Regions from separate parts of the Homo sapiens genome. Here regions 1 and 3 are each linked to region 2. Evidence: promoter capture Hi-C in 16 types of primary human blood cells and fetal thymus (Javierre and others, 2016). All regions are on one chromosome and are shown on one strand. The core of a region is centred on a gene start or on the middle of the fragment in contact, and the rest is flanking DNA. Distances in the headings are between cores, read along the strand shown.

The links. The method cuts DNA at HindIII sites, captures the fragments that hold promoters and counts their contacts. A CHiCAGO score of 5 or more calls a contact.
Region 1: a contact is called between a fragment that was not itself captured here and the fragment with the promoter of FABP9 in region 2, in 1 of 17 cell types (M2 macrophages). The highest score is 6.2, in M2 macrophages.
Region 3: a contact is called between a fragment that was not itself captured here and the fragment with the promoter of FABP9 in region 2, in 3 of 17 cell types (M0 macrophages, M2 macrophages and M1 macrophages). The highest score is 6.4, in M0 macrophages.

What each region holds. Positions count from the first base shown.
Region 1 is chr8:81,270,233-81,272,932 of GRCh38, forward strand. No RefSeq gene overlaps it. Among named protein-coding and RNA genes, the nearest start is that of FABP5, 9.0 kb to the right of the region's middle. The HindIII fragment of the contact is 1,948 bases long and covers 470-2,417 here.
Region 2 is chr8:81,460,157-81,463,015 of GRCh38, forward strand. It overlaps FABP9 (fatty acid binding protein 9), which reads right to left and starts at 1,423. Exons shown (of 4, transcript NM_001080526.2): 1 at 1,295-1,423. The coding sequence starts at 1,367. It overlaps LOC101927118 (a long non-coding RNA gene), which reads left to right and starts at 1,302. Exons shown (of 9, transcript XR_001745980.2): 1 at 1,302-1,818. The HindIII fragment of the contact is 22,583 bases long and covers 1-2,859 here.
Region 3 is chr8:81,293,862-81,296,561 of GRCh38, forward strand. No RefSeq gene overlaps it. Among named protein-coding and RNA genes, the nearest start is that of LNMICC, 14 kb to the left of the region's middle. The HindIII fragment of the contact is 9,479 bases long and covers 1-2,700 here.

The sequences.
Region 1 (2,700 bases), core at 194-2,693, 190 kb before region 2:
GAGGAGTTAGGTGCATGAGCAATGGGTAAAAATGTATGGAACATATATCCCATGTTCACTTTGGGGCGGGATTTTAGCATTAAAATGGGGTGGACTTTGCTCTTTACATCAAAAGGTGAACTATAGGACACAAAGACAGTTTGTGCATCTCTATTAAACTGGCTGAAACTGGCTTGAGGCCTGCAGTCGCTTATCAGGAAAGAATGTAAGGTGTGTCCTCTGTTCAATTAAAGTTGTGGTGGTCTGGGATGTAAATCAGAGTTAAGAAGGTTCTGATAATTTGCCTGATTCCTCTTGTTGTTAAGGAGTTTAGCAAAGGTGTGGTTTTCCTTAAAGCTGTAGGAATTTAGGACAATACCATGCTAGCTGAGCCCTGAACCCTCAACCTGTAGGGAACTTGTTTCAACTTTAAGGTCTGGTTTAATTGATAAAGGGGCATCTACTTTGGCCTCCCAGGTCATATATACAAAGCTTTCTCTAAATACTGTACCTTTGGTCTGCATTCACTTTCCGAACCTCAATAGAACATGTCCAGAAGACCTTTATTAAGAGGTAAGTTTTCATGCATAGATGTCCTCCATGAACAACTGATATGTATGTTCTTCGAGGCCATTACTAGTTATGTACTATATTTCTTCATTCCCGCAGAACATTGTCTTGGTGATAGAATCAAATACTTTGGAGGCTGAAGATTATCATCAGCATTTTCCTAGAGTATTCTTCAGAGCATTCTAAGTGCTGCTAAAAGGATGGCAGCAAACAAGGCAGGTTTTGCAATCAATCCATTTGTAGAGATGTTGCTCTTAAAATGTTAAATGTATTTTTTAAGTTCAAGATTTCCTGGCATTGTTAGTATGCTCATACAAGCTGGAAATATCCAATGGGAATCATGGTATGCCCAATTTCCCTAATTTGTTTGATAATGGAGTCTGTATTCAAAAAACTCCTCACAGGAAATTTTAATTTCTTCTGTTCTTCTAAGGTTACAGATGAGAAAACAAAAATTTAAATTTAAACAGGTATTTTGTAGCAAAGTCTAGAACAAGGGTTTCCTATATCCTAGGTCACTGCTTTTACTTTTTATGTATTTAGAGCAGATATTTAATAAAATTATTGTTTTACAAATGATACTAATATTTATTTGCCTGACTATTTTAACGTTATGGCCTAGAATTATAATAGAGACAAAAGTTGCTATGTCCAATTTGATTCTTAAAAAATCTTTTAAGATTGTTTTCAATTCAAGTGAAGACAAAGGGGAATTGAGGACACAAAGATAATAGTTTTTTAAAAAATACTTTAAAAAAAGATATATACTTTTTAAGATTTTCTAAGAGACCAAAAAGGCTCTGCTACAGTTTAAATAGTGAGCAAATTATGCATGTTTGTGTAAGTATATGACATATTATTATGACATATGGTTTTCTTGAGGAACAAGGGGGGAGGCCAAGCAATGGCACAATTACTTGCAGTGTTACATTTCTCATGTCTATTTATAATCCATACTCTAGTATTGTTTGAACTATGAATTAATAACTATTATTTTCATAGGCCAAATACGAATTGAAAGAAATAATTTAATTTTTAGGTTAATCCCCTTATTTTTTCATTTTCATTTTTCTTCCCATAAAGTATTTTAAAGAATACTTAAATGATTATGGAATATATTTGGTGTTCTTGATAAACCTATAATTTGCAATTCTATTTTTGCTTACTCAGAAAATCTTTTGTCAAAGGAATCTTGATTGAGTTTTAGCTGAATTAGAAGACATCTAAAATTCCTTTAAACTCTAGGATTTTGATTCTCCTTTAGTCCTAAATCCAAGCCACTAATCTATTTTCAGAAATGAAACTATACAACTTTGAAGAATTTACCAATATGTCTGCTCAAGTGACAACTCATTGTTCTGAGATCACGTCTGACCAAGAATTACTGCCAAATACGCAATTAAAAACTGTATGTCTTGGGTGTGGGCAGCAAAGATCAAGTTCTACTTGTTCATGTGGATTAGTGACTTGGACTAGTTAGGTTCCCTCAGAGTACTGAGGCCCTAAGGCTTTGGGTGTGAAAGAACTAGAGCCTTGCCTTGGAAAACCAGAAGCAGCTGACACCTGCTTAGTAAAGCACGAAGCAAAAGGAAACCCAATACTTTTTTGTGTGTGCAGGATTTACCATCACTATTCACGTTGATTGGAAAATGACAAATAAATGTTTTGTTGAACTCTTATGTGATTTTTATTTTGTTTCTAGTTATGATTTGTATCACCACATGCTTTCAAATGGAATATTAGGCAGTTTTGATTTTCTGTTTCATATTGGGGTCAAACTTTTGTTTCTGTGACTATATCTCAGAGATGATTATGTCAACAAAATGCAAAAATGCAATAAAATGGAAAGGTATTTAATTTGAGAAAAAAGCTTTTTTTCCCATATAGTACATAACATAGAGTAACTTTCATATGCTAAATACATTCAAAGGGACACCAGTAAATGGCATTCTTTCCTGTTTATAGAAGCTGGTCCTATTCTGTCTTGACACTTATATGATGTCCTGATAACATAGCTGCAGAAGTGATAATATTTTACAACATGCAACAAATAAAACTTGTCATATAGAACCATAGTCTTCTCCCCAGGAACCACGTACAGTTTCTACTGAAAGACAAGGGCATCAGAGTATGTGTGGCAAGAAATCATTC
Region 2 (2,859 bases), core at 173-2,672:
GCCCAGCTAATTTTTGTATTTTTAGTAGAGATGGGGTTTCACCATGTTGGCCAGGCTGATCTCGAACTCCTGACCTCAGGTGATCCACCTGCCTTGGCCTCCCAAAGTGCTGGGATTGGAGGCCTGAGCCACTGTACCCAGCCAGCGGATGTTTTAAAAGGTTAAATGAAAGGGGTTAGCATGGTACTGGCACATAGAAACTGCTCAGCTGTTATTCTTGCTTGTATTATGCCTAAACCCAGCTCCCAGTCAACACAAGTGCTACTCTGGCCATAAGGCCCAAGTTTTTTATATACCCCCCCAATTTTTATTCAAAACAAGTGAGTCTATAAATCTATGAAGAGACAGAAAAACTTGTTTCTTATGACCCTCTGAGAAAGTGAATATTGACTACATCAGAGGAACAAATATTACATTTATAAGCACATTGACTTATTATGGGGATAAGGCATTGTTATTTCATTGTCTAGAATGAGTAAACATAATTAATAATTGTAAGCATCCATTAAGCATGTTATGTAAGTTAAAAAAAAGTAAAGATAAGAAAGTCCTTGGCTTTGTATACAGTTTACTACAAGGGAGGTTTCTCTTAATTAAATATGAAAAATATGAAATAATTGCTGTTCTTCCATTAGTAAAGAACAGTTTAGCTATTATACACCCAAGTCATTATAATTAATGTGTAACTAAATGACTTGAGTTAGAGATTAAAGGATTGGTAGGGTTTATAATTCTGAGGAATATCCAGTGGTGAGACATTCAATGAGTAAAAATGTTGTGTTTCTTCAGATTTGTAATTCTTCAAAACCATGTTTATAAAATATCTCTCACATTTATGAGAACTCTAAAAATTAACCAACTAGAAATTTTGTTAGTTGATACTGCTGTTTTAAAGCTATAACTTAAACCTTGAAACAAATTTAATTGATCAATTTAATTGTAGGTAGTGATTACTGTCTATAAATTTGAAGCTGGGAAAAATGTTATTAAATGAAATGACCAAGCTAAAATGAAATTCTATCTAGAAGTTAGGTGAAGTATTTTCAAAAAGGATAAATGGGCTTAAATATATGGATCATGACTGGACAGAGGTGTCTGTGGGCCTAGTCTTCCAAAAAGAGACAATTATTACTAGTAATTTAAAAAAGCAAAAGTAGAAGCATACATTGTGTTAGTCTATATACCCTAGGATCACAAAAGGAAGATAATTGTAGGAAAATTCATGGTAAAGTACAAACCCAATCACATCACAAAATGCTTTGCCAATTTCCAAATTTGTAATGGTATTTCTCACCCAGTTCTTTCATGTAATCCTCAAAGTTTTCACTGGAGACCAGCTTCCAGGTTCCCAAGAAGGGCTCAACCATCATGGAACACTTGCTGAGAAGAGCCACTCGTAATTGAAAACCAAAGAAATATAGGCATTACGGTGCTGCCAGTAGTTTAATTTAAAGAGCGTCTTCATCACGTGACTCTTCTGAAATGGCCAATGGGCAACAGCAGCAAGACTAAAGATTCTAGGCACCAGCATTTGACTCATTTTATTTACCTCCAAATTAAGAGACAGAAAATTAGCATGTAAAATTAAATTCTGGTCAATGATTTTAGCTTCTAGCAAAAAGATTTACACCCAAGTCACCTGACAAATATTACTTGTGGAACGGAGACAATCTTCAATAGACATCAGCTTTTTGAACAATGAATACTGAGTCAACCCTGGAGGAATATCCTGACAAATTGATAAACACCTGGCTGAGATGTTTTCCTACCTAAGACAAGAAATCCTTGCTTGGTCCACCTCAGCTGTTTTTTGTTTGGGTAAGTCACAGTGCTCAAACATCCTCTTCATTAAAATAATATCTTCCCTTCCCTTCCTTACAGGGTTGATGGGTTGATATTAGTTAATGTAACTAAAATGCCTATAATTGCTTGGAGGGAAATGGAGGGTATTATTAATATATTATCATTGTTGTTAATCGAAGGTAATTGAGGACAGGAAAGAAAGGTGACAATTATCATTGGATAATAGTATATGATTTAAGCTCTGAAAAGGAAGCAGAGCGAATGCCTACAAAATTCGTCTTTCAGGCTTACAAAGTAAACTCTACATTAAAAGATATTTTAAATTATAAGAAAAAATTTTGGCAAGTTTCATATAGAAAAAGATGTTTGGAATCTGCATTCTAAAAGAAAGACAAAGGCAGCAAATGGTTTCAATCTCTGTGCCATTACTTCTGAAACCATCTTCTGCAACCCCAATAATGGAAGTGGACTTTGCAGGTACTGAGTTTAGTAAGAAGGAGTAGATTCAGTAGCTGTTGATTTACATTACGGTTTTGAACTCCAGTTAACTTTAGAAGATGTTGGAAAGTTAGTGTCAGGGACCAGAAGAAGAATATTTATATTTTTACCTGCTTTGTATGAAGTATTTATTTAATTCAGAAAATATTGTTTGTGAACAAAATAAACAGGAGGTTGATATTTTGGTACTGTAAAACAATAACTTAAGTGGAATAAAGGATGGCTTTTGATGAAAACATATAAAGAAGAAACATATAATGTGATATCTTTATGGGTGGGACAATTATTAAATTATCTACAGTGCAAAACAGGGTAAGTGAAAATCCTGGAGTTAATTTCAGGAAACTAAGACCCAAGCTCAAAATAAGTGCCTCAGCAGTTGAAAGTGCATTCAGAGGTGATGTTCAAATATAGAGCAAGTTGTTAAACGTTTGCTTAACTGGTTCGAGATGTGTATGCACTCTCTGCTTTAAAGAAAGCAAGCATACATTGCTATGCCTGTTGGCCAGCTGGGTAGTGTAGCAAAGGTCTCCCATCAGCATAATCTTCCTTGTTGTT
Region 3 (2,700 bases), core at 126-2,625, 170 kb before region 2:
TATCAAAATAGTAGACTGTACCTCATAAATATGTATAATTAAGTGTCAATTAAAAATAATAGTAAAAGCCAAAATATGAGGCAGATACAAATATTATTTCCATTTTACAAATCAAAAAACAGAAGCTGAACAGCAATTTGAAGAGGCCTCTGGAGCTTCACATGGAGGGAGTCAGGCATGCTTGGGAGTTACCCTCCAATTCCAACCTGATGCCCAGGGTGGCAAACAACCAGTGACTGTCAAGTGTAGGAGTGTGAAAGCTCAGGTCCCTTGCATCAGATGAGGACATCTGATATATAACTGAGATATAACTGACCCTCCAGAGTTGCTCCCTGGATCAGGCTAAAGCCCGCCCTCTGTAGAACATGGTCTGAGATCATATCCTGCCTCAGTTTCCTCCTCTTCCCACTCCTACTTCCCCTCTCTCACGCCTTTACAGATCTTTCCCTAACACTTCCCTTAACAAATCACTTGCATGCAAATTCTTGCTCTGGCTTTGCTTCTGGGGAACTCACTCAGAACAGCCCTGCTGAGCCCTGGAAATTCCTGACCCTCCAAAACCTTGGGACATAATAAAATGATTGTTGTTTAAGCCTCGTTTTGGGGTGATTTGTTCTGTAGCAATAGGTAGACAGAACTCCCTGCAACACCACCATAAGTGTATGCAGCAGGGATCCCTCCAGTCCTTACTCAAAGGACTCCAGGGCTCAATTCATCCTGACCAGATTGACATATTCCACAAAGGAGCTTTCCCTTCTTCTGCAGGTCCCCAGCCAACACTGCTGTCTGGGGGCCCACAGAGTGTTTCATCTGTTGATATAACATCACCTTGAGACCCATTCTATGGTGAATGAAGTGTGGCAAAGAGTCCATGATGAGGAAAGTTGCTGTTCCTACCACAAACCACCACTTTCAGACGATTCTAGCCTGATGGAGCATGGAACGGTCTGTTGAAGGCAAACCCAAGACTGGGGTACTGTCCTTCAGGATGTGGTAAGCAGCATGAAGCAGCAGCTATTACATATGGTGCTGCTTTGTTTTTAAAAATTGCAGATTTGCTTGTGAAAGGCTTAATTAATAGTCATGGTGGCTGGGAGCGGTGGCTCACACCTGTAATCCCAGCACTTGGGGAGAAAGCCAAGGTGGGTGGATCACTTGAGGTCAGGAGCTCAAGACCAGCCTGGCCAACATGGTGAAACCCCAACTTTACTAAAAAAAAAACAACAACAAAAAACAAAAACTTATCCAGGCATGGTGGCGGACGCCTGTAGTTCCAGCTACTTGGGAGGCTGAGGCAGGAGAATTGCTTGAACCTGGGAGGCGGAGGTTGCAGTGAGCGGAGATCATGCCACTGCATGCTAGCCTGGGCAATAGAGTGAGACTCCGTCTCAAAATAAATAAATAAATAAATAAATAAAAATAAAATTTGTGTGGATTGTTTTCAGTCTTTTGCTCTTATAGATAACCAAAGTTCAGGCTACTTTTCATTCAATTTATAGAGACTCTAGAGTCTAAGTACAAATGGGAATCCAATGGGAGCGATCTACAGGCTCAGGAACCAGAGGCAGGAATAGGAGTGACCTTGCTCACCATGACTCCCAGTGACCTGCTTGTCCCTTTGAATACGTTTTTATGGTTTATCCCCCTGGCTTTGGTGTACTTTCAGCAGCCAGCAGCTAAGGCTCTTTGTGGGAAATCTGTCCTTGGACTACTAGAGCCCTTTTTCCCACACATGCAGAAGGCTGAAAGTGACTGAGAGTTTGTGTTCTTCTTTCTCTGCCAGGGCTGCCTGGTGCAGTGTGGGAATATGAAACCCAGCTCCCTTGCTGAAGATGGGACAACACCAAGGCTGAACTCACACTTGAATTCACCCACAGGATGGGGCTGAGCCTGAGATCTCATCCTTCATGGCTTCCTCTCCTTCCTTCTGTTTCAGAGGAATCTGACCTAACTCACTTGTTTAGAGTTACAAACAAAATAAATGGTGAGGTCAGGACCTAGGATTGCTGTATTGAGCAAATAAAAATACAGGACTCTTGCATTTTATCTAGCAATAAAAATAAAATAAAAAATACAGGATGTCCTGCATCTTATGTCTGGCAACCTTAGTCAGGATACTAATCCAAGTCTGTCTAATTCCAATACCCATGCTGGTTTTTAAAAAAAATTAATAAATCATTTTGAGTCTGTAAATAACTTCAGTGTCACATTACAAAATACAAAAATACAGTAGTAAAATTGTCAGCCTTCCTACTACCCCTGTCCCCAGCCACTCGTCTCCTTTTTAGAGGCAATCATGGTAACCTTTTTCTTATTTATCTTTCTAGCAATATTCTCTGTAAATCCAGGCATAATTATATATGCATCTCTGTACCTTGCTTTATTAATTTAACAACTCCTCTAAGGTAGGTCCTTATCAGACATATGGTGCTGTTTTGTTTTAGAAAATTGCAAATATACTTGGGAAAGGCTTAATTAATAGTCTTGTGGATTGTTTTCAGTCTTTTGCTCTTATAGATAACCAAAGTTCAGGCTATGTTGTTTTATTCAATTTAAAGAGACTCTAAAGTCTAAGTACAAATGGAGATCAAGAATTGAGCTGCTAAGTGCTGCTAACAGCATTGAGGAGAGATGTAGGTTACTTGATGATAAGGCAGCCGCAAGAGTTCAATGGATGCTATCTGATGTCTGAAATTATTC